Regions from separate parts of the Homo sapiens genome. Here region 2 is linked to region 1. The links are contacts of gene promoters, found by promoter capture Hi-C in blood cells and fetal thymus (Javierre and others, 2016). All regions are on one chromosome and are shown on one strand. Each heading gives the region's core, a stretch centred on a gene start or on the middle of the fragment in contact. The rest is flanking DNA. Distances are from core to core; before and after follow the strand shown.

Region 1 (6,601 bases), core at 373-2,872:
AAGGTAGCTAATTCAATCCAGTGTAATTGGAAAGATCGTGCCTAGATTGACTTGTGTACCCTTCAGTGGCAGCAGGGGATTGATTCAAATGACCTTGGATGCGAATCAGCTCTACAAAAGTGGCCTCTTGTAGCTGGTTTCTGCCCCTTCCTGGCTATTCAATGATAATCAGTCTTCCGTCTTATCTCTTTACCTTGCCCTCCTGTCTTACTCCCCTATGTCTCTTCTCCGTCTTTTTTTGCCTGTGGGAGTCAAGTCTAATATTTACTCTGCCACTGTGGGCAAGACTTTCCTGTGTACCCCTGCTACAAGACTTGTCCAGCTCTGAAGGAAGGCAAAGTCAGGAATAGTTCAAGAAAGATGGCCAGGCATGGTGGTGCACGCCTGTGGTCCCAGCCACTCAGGAGGCTGAGGCAGGAGAATTGCTTGAACCCAGGACGCAGAGGCTGCAGTGAGCCAAGATAGCGCCAGTGCACTCCAGCCTAGGCAACAGAGCGAGACTGCCTCAAAAATAAAATAGGCTGAGCGCCATGGCTCATGCCTATAATCCCAGCAGTTTGGGAGGCAGATCACCTGAGGTCAGGAGTTCAAGACCAGTCTGGTCGACGTGGCGAAACCCTGTCTCTACTAAAAATACAAAAACTAGCCAGGCGTGGTGGCATGCACCTGTAATCCCAGCTACCCAGGAGGCGGAGGTTGCAGTGAGCCGAGATCGTGCCACTGCGCTCCAGGCTGGGCAACAGAGTGAGACTCCATCTCAAAATAAAGTAAGCCAGGTGTGGCGGCTCACACCTGTAATCCCAGCACTTTGGGAGGCCAAGGTGGGAGAATCCCTTGAGCCCAGGGGGTCAAGACCAGCGTGACCAATATAGCAAGACATTGTCTCTAAAAAAAATAAAAATAAAAATAAATAAATAAAACTAGCTGGTTGTGGTGGTGCACGCCTGTAGTCCCAGGTACTCAAGAGGCTGAGGTGGGAGGATGGCTTGAGCCCATGAGTTTGAGGCTGCAGTGAGCTATGATTGTTCTACTGTACTCCAGCCTCTGTGACAGAGACCTTTATTCAAACAAAAAAAAAAGAAAAGGCGGAAGAAAAAAAGAACGAATGAAGGAAAAGGGGAAGGAAGAAAGGAAGAAAGAAAGGAAAGGAAGGAGGGAAGGAAGAAAGAAAAAGAATAAAAATGAAAGAAAAGGAGAAAAAAAGATTGGAGTCCTGGAGGGGAGACCAGAAATTATAGAATCTGGAAGGGATATATCTTAGTAACCAGCCCACTTCTTCCGAGGGGAAAACTGAGATTCAAGAAGGGAAGAAACTTGCCCAGGTTCACCCAGTAAGAGGCACAACTAGGATCAGAATTGGGTGGCCTGAGCCTCATCCGCTGAGAGCTGGCCAACCCCTCATCGCCTCCTTCCCGCAGCGCTCACCCTTCATGTTGCGCATGTGTCTGTAGGAGCTCCCAGCGCACAGCTTGAATGTCGCTAGCAGCATTGTTTCCTGGCAAATGTGGCAGTGGTGGGGTCGCTGCCGCTGCTGCTGCCGCCGCTGCTGCTGCCTCTTCTCTCAAGGGTGGTTCTTCGTCCTTCCTGAGCCCCTCAAGCTTCGCCTCTGAGTCCCGCAGCTGCAGCCTGGACCTGGTGTTCTGCGTCTTAAATGTCCCCCGCTGAAGGCTGTGCATCATCATCAGGAGATAAAAACGCCATCACTCACTGTGCAAAGGAAGGGGTCAAGGATAGAGCGATTGCCTCACACTGCTGCTTTGGCCGTTTGTGGGGAGCTTGGGGCGGGGGAGGGTGCAGGGGAGAGTAGGGAGGACAGGGCCAGGCGAGGGATGGAGGGGAGAGAAGCAGGGGCAGCTTAGATGAAGGCACACAGTGGTTTTCAAGACTTTAAAGTGCAGATTTCTAGCCCTTGTCTTCAGAAACTCCAGGCTCAGCTGATCTGGAATTGAGGCTCAGAAACCTGTGTTAAAAAAAAAAAAAAAAAAAAAAAAAAAAAAAAAAAAGAAGGAAAAGAAAAGAAAAAAGAAAAAAAGAAAAGAAAAAAACTTCCCTTGGCCAGGCGCGGTGGCTTACGCCTGTAACCCCAGCACTTTGGGAGGCCGAGGTGGGCAGATCACTTGAGGTCAGGCGTTCGAGACCAGCATGGCCAACATGGTGAAACCTCATCTCTACTAAAAATACAAAAAATTAGCCGGGTGATGTGGCAGGCACCTGTAGTCCCAGCTACTCGGGAGGCTGAGGCATGAGAATCACTTGAACCCAGGAGGCAGAGGTTGCAGTAAGCCAAGATCGTGCCACTGCACTCCATCCTGGGCGACAGAGTGAGACTCCGTCATAAATAAATAAATTAAATAAATAAATAAATAAATACCCAGTGGTTGCAATGCAGGTGTTGTGTGGACTACACACTACACTTTGAGAACCACCGTCTCGCGAGAGTGAGCCAGGGTGTTTACCAGGCAGTAGAGACCATATGGCTGCTCTTCTTCTGGGTGAGGACCCTGAAGTCCACAGAGTGGAACTGACTTGTTCAAGGTCAAACAGCTGGCCAGTGGCAGGGCCAGGACAACAACCCAAGCCTCTGGCCTTCAAGCCATCTGTACACAGTTCCTCCTGCGGTCCCCAGGACGCTTGGTATATTCAACTGTCAATTTATTTACTCATCTATTTATAGAAACCACCTTTCCCAAAGTCCTGTTCCGAGTGAGGGTTCTTAGGGGTCTGTGCTGGAGCAAGGATGACCTCTCGTGGCTGAGTCGCGGGGGGGCGGGGGGGGGCGGGGCAGCCCTATCAGTATACGGCAGAGAGAAGAGGAGGGCCTGGGCCACGCCCACACCCTTCCTCACACTTTCCCGCCAGTAGCTTTGTCTGAGTGAGCTGGGCTGGGGGTCTTGGTATGTGCAGAAAGCTTGAAAAGACAGGGCATGGGCTGGGCACAGTGGCTCATGCCTGTAATCCCAGCACTTTGGGAGGCTGAGGCGGGCAAATCACAAGGTCAGGAGTTTGAGACCAGCCTGACCAACATGGTGAAACCTCGTCTCTACTGACAATACAAAAATTAGCCGGGAGTGGTAGCGTATGCCTATAATCCCAGCTACTCAGGAGACTGAGGCAGGATAATCACTTGAACCCGGGAGGCAGAGGTTGCAGTGAGCCAAGATAAAGCCACTGTACTCCAGCCTGGGTGACAGAGCAAGACTCCGTCTCAAAACAAAAACAAAAACAAAAAAACAAAAATTAGCCAGGCATAGTGGCAGGCACCTGTAATCCCAGCTACTCAGGAGGCTGAGGCAGAATTGCTTGAACTTGGGAGGTAGAGGTTGCAGTGATCTGAGATCACACCATTGCATTCCAGCCTGGATGACAGAGCGCGAGACTCTGTTGCAAAAAAAAAAAAAGGAAAAAAAGAAAAGACAGGGCGTTGGGGTGTTCACCCTAGTCTTTGCACTTTAGGGGCCCTGTCAGGCTGAGCAAGGCCCCACGAGGCCTCTGCATTTCCCACTCACCCTTACCCAGGCGCAGCACGTGCTGGGCTCTGACTCTGACGGAATCTCTTCCCTTTACAGTGACCTTGAGGCTGCTTTTAAGCCAGATTCACTGGGCAAGAATATTGGGAGTGGAAAAACTCACACTGGAACTGCCCCTGGCCCAGGCCCTGCTCCCTGTGGGAGGGAGTTCTGTGTCCTGCCACCACCTCACAGAGGCAGAGGGGAGCCCTAAAAATGGGGAGCAGTGCCGGGGCCCCATGCACTCTCGCTGTCTCCCCAACACCAGACAGGGTGAAAGGGACAGGATCTGCTCAGAGCCAGGCCTGGCACTTGGAGCCCATATAGAACAGGGGAGTCACCCCCCTGGCCCCCGATTTCCACCCCGGTGATGCAGTCGGGGAATCCTGTGAGCAGAGGCTGCCTAGAGGTACCCGGCCCCTTCCTCAAAACCTCCTCCAGGAAACCTTCCTAGACCATCCTGGTCTTCTGGAATGCTGGCTCCTCCCACCACACCCTTACTGTCAGTATCACTTGAGGGGCTTAGTTCTGGTCCTGATTTGTTGAATGGTTTGTATGTGTTTGCTTGTCTCTTCTGTGGAATTATCTCCCCAAGGCAGGTGCTGGGTCCACTTTCCCCCTTAAAAGCTGTCCCCACCCTCAGCACTCACCTCCAGCAGAGACACAGGGGACTCTTGCTCCTTCTCTATTAAAACTTTTTTTTTTTTTAATTTTTAAAAATAGAGACGGGGTCTTGCTATGTTACCCAGGCTGGTCTTGAACTCCTGGGGTCAAGCCATCCTCCTGCCTCGGCCTCCCAAAGTGAGCCACTGTGCCTGGTGTGCTCCTTCTCTATTGAGTGACCAACTGGGAAAGCAGCTAGGGGTGCAGGTATATCTTTAGACTCAGGAAACCTGCCTGAAGGCATTGTTTCCAGCCCTCAGTCCCCAAGGAAGACAGCAGGGCCTCTCCCCCGTCGCCAGCCTGTGCCTAGGCCCTCTACCTTTCAGAGAGGAGGTGCAGTGGATGAGCTGGGCAGGTGGGGTGCCAGCTCCCCCGGCTCCTCCCTCTGATCTGCTGGGGCATGTGCCTCTCCTGCACATGTGTGTCTGCAGGCCTGCCTCAGCGAGGTGGGGGGAGGGGGAAGGCGGTTATTATGGGACAGGCCATGCAGATGATGATCAAGGCCCTGCTGCTGCCTTCCTGTGGAGAATTATGGCCATTCTGAAAGGGGTGGAGGTGGTGTGGGAGACGGAGGATAGAGCCTATGGCTGTGGCTGATGTCAGAGGCTGCCATTGACTCCTGGGAGGGGGTGGTTGGGAGGTGGTGCTGGGTGACCTCTGCAAGGGCCAAGGCTCTCTCCCTCATCCTTTCCAGGCAGAATGACTCATTAACTCTCTCCATCCCTCTGAGCAGTAAAGTGGCGAGAGAGGTCTGGGAATTTCCTCTGGTTCTGGACCATCTGTATCTGGCTCTGCTTTTTGATGAGGGCAGAGCTTCCAAGAAAGGAGGCCAGATGACCATGGCAGGCCATGGGGGAGGAGAGCCAGGAGGCCAGCTCAGGTGGTGTGGATGTGCCATGCTGGAGAGGAAGGCCCCCAGGCCAGGCGAGAGAGCCAGGGCTTTGGAGCAAAAAAGGGGATTCCTTCCTTCCTTCCTTCCTTCCTTCCTTCCTTCCTTCCTTCCTTCCTTCCTCCCTCCCTCCCTCCCTCCCTCTCTCCCTCCCTCCCTCCCTCTCTCCCTCCCTCCCTCTCTCCCTCCCTCCCTCCATTCATTCAACAGTCCTTTCCTGAATGTCTCTATGTGGCTCTAAAGTTAGGACAATATGAGTTGAACCATAGACCCAGTATGGACAGTCGTAGAGCAGATGAGGTGTTTTGGAAGTAGAGATGATGGAACCTCTAATTCTATGGGGGAGGGAGGGAGGAATGTTACGGAAGGCTTCTGGAAAATACGAATGGGAGTTAGCTAGGTTTGTGGAGGGGGTTGAAAATAGAGAGTTGATGGGGTAAGGGTGTCCCAGGTAGAGCAGATGGCCAGCAGCTTGGAGGAGACTCTGAGGGCTGCGAGCTGGCTGTCAGGGGAAGCTTGGGCCATTCCACGTGGCCTCAGCCTCCCAAAGTGCTGGGATTACAGGCGTGAGCCACAACGCCCAGCCTCTTTTTATTTTCTTCATCCTCTCAGGTTAGTTATAAGGTTTAAATGAGGTAACAATACATCAATACCTCACAAGATAAAGTCCAGAATTCTTAGCACAATTCCAATTTGGCCATTCCAGTTCTCACCTGGATTCTACCCAGCAGTGCTCAGCTCTCCCTGTGGTGCCTGCTGCCATCCATCCTGTGCATACCTTCTCTGTTCCAGGGATACTTGCAGTGCAGTCTCCCCTCAGAGGCTGTCCTCTGTGCCTTTCCTCACCCTACTCTTTAATTAGAATCCAATATTTTGGCCCGGCATGGTGGCTCATGCCTGTAATCCTAGCACTTTGGGAGGCCGAGGTGGGCGGATCACCTGAGGTCAGGAGTTCGAGACCAGCCTGACCAACATGGAGAAACCCCGTCTTTACTAAAAATACAAAAAAAATTAGCCAGGCATGATGGCGCATGCCTGTAATCCCAGGTACTTGGGAGGCTGAGGCGGGAGAATTGCTTGAACCTGGGCGGTGGAGGTTGTGGTGAGCCGAGATCGCGCCATTGCACTCTAGCCTGGGCAACAAGAGCAAAGCAAAACTCCGTCTCAAAAAAAAAAAAAAAAAGATCCAATATTTTACCTTTTGGCCCCACCTTGATAAATATTTATCACAGTATAAATAAGACTCTTGCCAATTTCTCCTTGTTTTACTTTTTTTTTTTGAAACGGAGTCTCGCTGTCTTACCCAGGCTGGAGTGCAATGGCACAATTTCGGCTCACTGCAACCTCCGCCTCCCAGGATTCTCCTGCCTCAGCCTCCCGAGTAGCTGGGATTACAGGCACGCACCACCACACTTGGCTAATTTTTGTATTTTTAGTAGAGATGGGGTTTTATCATGTTGGGCAGGCTGGTCTTGAACTCCTGACCTTGGGATCCACCCACCTTGGCCTCCCAAAGTGCTGAGATTATAGGCGTGAGCCACTG
Region 2 (7,079 bases), core at 3,615-6,114, 560 kb after region 1:
AAGATAAACCAGCCGTTTGTGCTTCAATTATTCCCTGCTAAAGACAGCGCCCCCCCACCCCCCGCCTTTTACCTCATTCCCACTCTCACTCTACCTACCTCATGTCTGTCCTTCTTGTTTGTATATTTTGTTCTTAAGGACTCTTTTTGTTGAGAGGGGGAGCAGGGACAGGGTCTCATTCTGTCGCCCAGGCTGGAGTGAAATGATGTGATCATAGCTCACTAAAGTTTTGACCTCCTGGGCTCAAGTAACTGTCCTGCCTCAGCTTCCCAAATAGTTGGGACTACAGGTATGCACCACTATGCCCGGCTAATTTTTTTATTTTTTGTAAAGATGGGGCCTCACTATGTTCCCAGGCTGGTCTTGAACTCCTGAGCTCAAGCAATTCACCTGCCTTGGCCTCCCAAAGTGTTGACATTACAGGTGTGAGCCACCATGCCCAGCCCTTAAGGACTGTTAATTAATAAAAAATGATGACAATAGCTAATGCTTAGTGAGCACTTCCTATGTTCCAGGCTCTCTGTGAAGAGCTGGTCCTATGAAGCCACGTAATCTCCTCTGAGATTGAAAAAATATTTAGGATTGAAAAATAAGCTGAGGAAACTGTGGTAGGGGATGTGGAAAAGCCGACTGAAGCTGCTGGCTTGGAATAGGAACAAGACACACACTCACAAAATACAATGCTCCACTCTCCTCTTTTTTAGCTAATTTCCAGACTTCCCGCTTCCTTTGGCTGCCAAAATCCTCCACATTGTGGCTGACACTCAATGCCTCCATCTACTATTCCCTAAACCGCGGACTTCCACCCCCACAATTCTATTGCAACTGCATTTGCTGGAGGTTGCCAGGACTTTCTTCTGGCCAAACACAATGGTTTTCCCCCCTAGTCCTCAGCCTTGCTGACCTCAGGGCAGTACTTGACATTGTTTATGACCCAGCCTTCCCAAGGCACTTTCCCACCTTTTTCTCCCCTGTTTACCTATTTGCTGTGTCTTCCAAATGTGCCTCTGAGCATGGCTCTTCTGCAGGGCTCTGATCACCCTGGGGCTCTCTCTCCCCTAGACAGCTCCTCTCATGGTTTTAACTAGAAGATCTCTGCTATGACTCCCAAATTTACCTCTTTATATGGTTTGGCTCTGTGTCCCTACCCAAATCTCATCTTGAATTGTAATTCCCATAATCCCCATGTGTCAAGAGCAGGACCTGGTGGGAAGTGATTGGATCATGGGGGCAGCTTTCCCCATTCTGTTCTCATGATAGTGAGTGAGTTCTCATGAGATTTGATGGTTTTACAAGTGTTTGACAATTCCTCCTATGCACACATTTGCTCTCTGTCACCTGCCGCCATGTAAGACATGCCTGCTTCACCTTCCACTATGATTGTAAATTTCCTGAGGCCTCCCCAGCCATGCTGCACTGTGAGTCAAATAAACCTCTTTCCTTTATAAATTATCCAGTCTTGGGAAGTTCTTTATAGCAGTGTGAAAATGGACTCATACACTTCTCCAGCCCAGACTCTGCCCCTGTGCCCCTAGGTGCGCCCTGGTTCCCCTTGGCCCTCAAAAGTTTTGCTGAAAAATCAACTTGCAGAAGGCAGATTAATTGGAGAAAAGGCATACACATTTATTTAATATATGATTAATATATTAAATATTGTCCAATAATATGATTGGACAAAAAGGGAACCATCTAATGCTGATAGACAGAGTGGGAACACCAAGCAAGGACTGTCTGTCTAGAGTCTTCTTTGCCTCTCTGAGCAGCACTCCTTCCTTCTGGGTTTGGGGCAGGACCCTTTCTGGAAAGGGGGTCTTATGACCTACAGTCCAATCAGGGAGGTCGGAAAATTTCCTTATGGCAAATTTTTAAACAGAAGGCAAGGGGAAAGTTAGAGAGTAATATTTTTAGTTTTTATGGCTTGCTTTGGGGGGAAGGGGTTCTGGTTTCTAAGACCTGCCTTGGGTTGTTCTTAGATTCTAGTGTCTCTGGCTAGTCTCGGGAGGATGGGACTGAGAGACAGGAGGACAAGAGAAGATCAGAGAAAAACTTTTGTTTCTGAGGCCTTCATTTTGAAGTATCGTTTTCTGAGCCCCAATAACCCAAATCCTTCATGTCCCTGAATAAATTTATCTTCTTCCCTCAAATTAGTTCTTCTTCCAAATATGCCTATGTCCCATTGTCTCTAAGGAAAGCCCAAGCCCAATACCTTGAGGCACGTTCTACTCCCCCACCTCTTCCAATCTACACATCCAGACTCCAAAACTGCCCCACTTCATGCTGTCTCCATCTCTCTCAAAGATGCTACCTCTCCATACCTCAATATTTTCCTAAAGTACTTCATTTGAAAGCAGTTTTTGCTAATCAACACTTTTAGAATAGACTTTCCACTTAGAGAAATCTATCCTAGGGAAATCATCAGAGATTCATGAAAACAAAGACTAATGTGTCTGAATCTCAAATAGGAACAACTTAAATGAAGAGGACTGAGGGCCTTAGTTAATACATTATGGTGTGTCCACTGCAAGGGAATGGTGCAGGCTTTCACAATTGGGCTTCAAAAGGATATTTGATGGTATGAGAAAATGTTTATCCTATATTGCTAAGCGAAAAAAAAAAAGACAAGGGAGAGAGGAATGAATAGGCAGAACACAGAGGATTTTTAGGGCAGCAGAAATATTCTGTATGATAATGCAATGAGGGATATATTATGTCATCCTACATTTGACCAAACCCTGGCAGGTCTTAGAAACCAGAACCCCTTTCCCTCAAACCAGCCATAAAACCTAAAATACTACTCTCTAACTTTCCCTCCGCCTTCTGTGTAAAAATTGGCCATAAAGGAATAATCTGGCCAGGAGCGGTGGCTCATGCCCATAATCCCAGCACTTTGGGAGGCCAAGGTGGGCAGATCACTTGAGCTCAGAAGTTCAAGACTAGCCTGGCCAACATGGTGAAACCCTGTCTCTACTAAAAATATAAAAATTAGCTGGGCATGGTGGCAGGTGCCTGTAATCCCAGCTACTTGGGAGGCTGAGGCAGGAGGATCGCTTGAACCGAGGAGGTAGAGGTTGCAGTGAGCCAAGACCACGCCATTGCACTCCAGCCTAAGCAACAAGAGCAAAACTCCATCTCAAAAAAAAAAAAAAAAAGAAAGAAAGAAAGAATCTGACCTACCTGGTTTGGCTGTAGGTCATCAGACTCCCATTCCAGCAGTGTCTTGCCCCATACCCAGAAGGAAGGCGCTCTGCACAGAGAGGCCAAGAAGAATCTAGGCAGACAGGCCTTGCTGAGTTTTTCTGCTGAGTCTGTTAGCATTAGGCCATTCCCTTCTTCTCCAATGTATAATAAAAGTTAAACAGAATGTACAACACCAACAGTGAACCCTAATATAAATTACACTATTTGAATTATAATGATATGTCAATGTAGGTTCATCAGTTGTAACAAATATACCCCTGTGGTGAGGGATGTGGATAATGGGGAGGTGGTGCATGTGGGGTCAGTGGGTGTATGGGAAATCTCTGCACTTTCCACTCAATTTTGCTGTGAACCTAAAACTGCCCTAAAAAAGTTAGGTCTTAAAAAAAAAAAAAAAAAGAGGCTGGGCACGGTGGTTCATGCCTGTAATCCCAGCACTTTGGGAGGCTGAGGTGGGTGGATCACTTGAGTTCAGGAGTTCAAGACTAGCCTGGCCAACATATAGTGAAACCCTGTCTCCACTAAAAAAAAAAAAAAAAAAAAAAAAAAAAATTAGCTGGAAGAGTTAGTGGGCACCTGTAATCTCAGGTACTCAGGAGGCTGAGGCAGGAGAATTGCTTGAACCCTGGAGGCAGAGGATGTAGTGAGCCGAGATTGCACCACTGCACTCCAGCCTGGGCAACAGAACGAGACTCTGTCTCAATAAATAAATAAATAAATAAATAAATAAATAAATAAATAAAGAAGAAATAAGCTTTACCTTGACACACACAAACACACAGCCCACAAATGGGAACGTACACCATGAATCCTATCTCAACCACCCTCCTCCTGGCTCATTATACCCCAGCAACCTCCTCTTCTTTCATTTCTCTTAAGCTGTTTCCTTCCCAGGACATTTGCACACATCAGGACAAACTCTGAAAGGCTTTGAAATGGGGGAAGAATTTGTAGGCATTCTGACTTACTCTTCCTGGTCATCTCCATCTTTCATTTTCTGAGCTAGAGACAACTCTGCAAGTTGTAGATGACTAAGAGCAATGTAAGGATTATTTTCCATATGCCAATACATTCTATCCAGCAGAGGGACAACTGCCCTTCATCCACCGAATTTGGAATCTTTGACATGTTCATTTCAGCATTCTTGATTGACCTATGTAAGTGTGGTACTTTGAATTAGCCTTTGAACCAGTTGTAAGATCTTAATGTTTCCCTCATTCATTAATGAGGTTAAAGATTAAATAAAAACTTTGACAGATGTTCATCTTATGATGATTCACCTGGTTTTTTTTGTTTTTTTTTTTTTGAGGGTCTTACTCTGTGGCCCAGGCTGGAATGCAATGGTGCAATCATGGCTCCCTGCAGCCTTGACCTCCCAGGCTCAAGTGATCCTCCTACTTCAGCCTCCTGAGTAGCTAGGACTTACAGGTGCATGCCACCAGGCCCAGCTAATATTTTGTGTGTGTGTGTGTGTGTGTGTGTGTGTGTGTGTGTGTGTGTGTGTGTTTGTAAAGATGAGGTTCCTCCATGTTGCCCAGACTGGTCCCAAACTCCTGGGTTCAAGCGATCTGCCCACCTCGGCCTCCCTAAGTGCTGAGATTACAAGCATAATTAGCTTCTTAAAGAAATGCATCCTTTAACACACCTGTTATGTGCTTCTCTCTCTCTTCATCCATCTCAGCCCTGCTCATCCTTCAGGTCTCAGCTTCAATGTTGCATCCTGGGAGAGGCCTCCTCTATTCTAGATCAGGTCTCTCAGATTTATTCTCTTGCTGGTCTCTTTCTTCACTGCACTTGTTACAGTTGATAATTATGTATTCTGTGAGCTCACTCATTCTGGGAATGAAATTACCCGTGATTTGAATCTCCTTCTTTATATTTTTCTTCATTTGACATGTTTCTATAATGAATATTTACACTTTTACAGTTTTTTAAATGTTGTCTTTAATCACTACTTTCAAAAGGAAAAGAAAAAAAAACTGTGGTATTTTTACTGTCAATTGCCCTTTGTAGTTCCAGGGAAGCCTCCCTCTCCAACTACCCCAGCCCACCCAGATTACTCCCGTACACAAACTCCTATTGCAATTCTATTGTGTTTCACGCAATTATACTCACCAGAGCATCCAGTAACAACATCACAAGCACCTGTGCTGAAAGCTGTAGGGGGTGGGGGGATGCATGAGACCCTAAAAAGGGTAAGTTGTGCTTCCTACTTTAGAGGAATTTATGACCTTATGGTGGTACAAGACATAGAAGAAAAGTTAAATAACAATGTGCAGTATTATTTAACGAAGCACCATAGCTTTAGATATATGTTCAGGCTTGGGTTTACCGAAGGCCAGAATGGTCATGCGGCCTTATCGTATGATCTCAGCCCACATGTTCGTTAGTCTTGTGAGTTAGACTAGGGTGCAACTTCACGGACGGCAGGACCACATCTTTCTTGGCTTCTTTCGTATAAACTACAGTACTGAACACAGAGCCCAGGCGCATAGCAGAGGCTTCTACCGATTGATTCACTTACTGTCCAGGACAACTGGCTGGGTCAGTTCTCAGCACATAGCTTCTCTGGGAGATAGGAAGCTTTACTGAGCCTCTCCTCACTCCAGCATAACGTGGATCTAGTCTTACCATGTAAGTGTCCACGTTGTTGAAAAGTGATAGGCTTGCAATGGTTGGATTCCTGCTGGGTCTGCTTGGGGAGGTGATGGAGAATCTTGCAGCAGCTGATAAAACAGAGAAGCCTGGGCACCTGGGCAGGAGATTTTTCTACAGTGGTGGAGCAGCAATGGCCACTTCCGGCAAGTGGTTCTATTCCAAGATCCCAGGGCTCAGAGAGCAGGAATGTTTCCAGGAAGATGGGCCATTGCTTAAACAGAAGCCGGAGATTAACCACGTTTACACACTAGGTTAAAATATCTAACTCTTTGGTCCAATCACAGGGGTGTCAGCTGTTGGAAAACAACCTAGTCCTAACGACCACCTCTAGTTCAGGAGCATTGAGGTCAGAGCTCTGCCATCACCCTGCTGTTTTGCATCATGCATAACACCTGCCTTCTCTCAGGCCTCCTTGGAAATGCTCCCCACTATCTGCAGCTGAACCCCTAGTATAGAGACATGACCCTGGCCACTTCCAGAATGGATTTACAGTGTAGCCACAATAAAATAAGGTGGACTAGGCCGGGTGTGGTGGCTTACGCCTATAATCCCAGCACTTTGGGAGGCTGAGGTGGGTGGATCACCTGAGGTCAAGAGTTCGAGACCAGCCTGACCAACATGGTGAAACCCCATCTCTGCTAAAAATGCAAAAATTAGCCAGGCATGGTGGTGGGTGCCTGTAGTCCCAGCTACGTGGGAGGCTGAGGCAGGAGAATCGCTTGAACCCAGAAGGCAGAGGTTGCAGTGAGCTGAGATGGTGTTGCTGTACTCCAGCCTGGGCAACAAGAGCGAAACTCATTCTTAAATAAATAAATAAATAAAATAAGATGGACTAGAGGAACTAGGATTGGAGAGGGAACTACTTTTAAATCATAATATTCTACATGTGGTATACCCTGGTTTTTTTTTTTTTTTTTTTTTTTGAGACCCAGTCTTGCTCTGTCACCCAGGCTGGAGTGCAGTGGCATGATCTTGGCTCACTGCAGCCTTGATCTCCTGGGCTCAAGAGAGCCTCCCGCCTCAGCCCCACAAGTAGCTGGAACTATAGGCATGCACCACCATACCTGGCTATTTTTTTTTTTTTTTTTTAGAGATGTGGTTCCACCTTGTTGCCCAGGCTGGTCTCAAACTCCTGAGCTCAGGCAATCCTCCCGCCTCAACCTCCCCAAGTGCTGGGATTACAGAAGTGAGCCACCACGCCTGGACTACCCTGCCTTCTTTAG

The links. Contacts are between HindIII fragments. The CHiCAGO score rates a contact against its expected background, and 5 or more counts as called.
Region 2: a contact is called between a fragment that was not itself captured here and the fragment with the promoter of STAR in region 1, in 1 of 17 cell types (endothelial precursors). The highest score is 6.0, in endothelial precursors.

What each region holds. Positions count from the first base shown.
Region 1 is chr8:38,149,330-38,155,930 of GRCh38, forward strand. It overlaps STAR (steroidogenic acute regulatory protein), which reads right to left and starts at 1,623. Exons shown (of 7, transcript NM_000349.3): 1 at 1,426-1,623. The coding sequence starts at 1,489. RefSeq lists enhancers at 1,462-1,761, 2,110-2,142, 4,186-5,171 and a promoter at 1,596-2,911. The HindIII fragment of the contact is 1,310 bases long and covers 1,597-2,906 here.
Region 2 is chr8:38,705,124-38,712,202 of GRCh38, forward strand. No RefSeq gene overlaps it. Among named protein-coding and RNA genes, the nearest start is that of TACC1, 79 kb to the right of the region's middle. The HindIII fragment of the contact is 1,829 bases long and covers 3,951-5,779 here.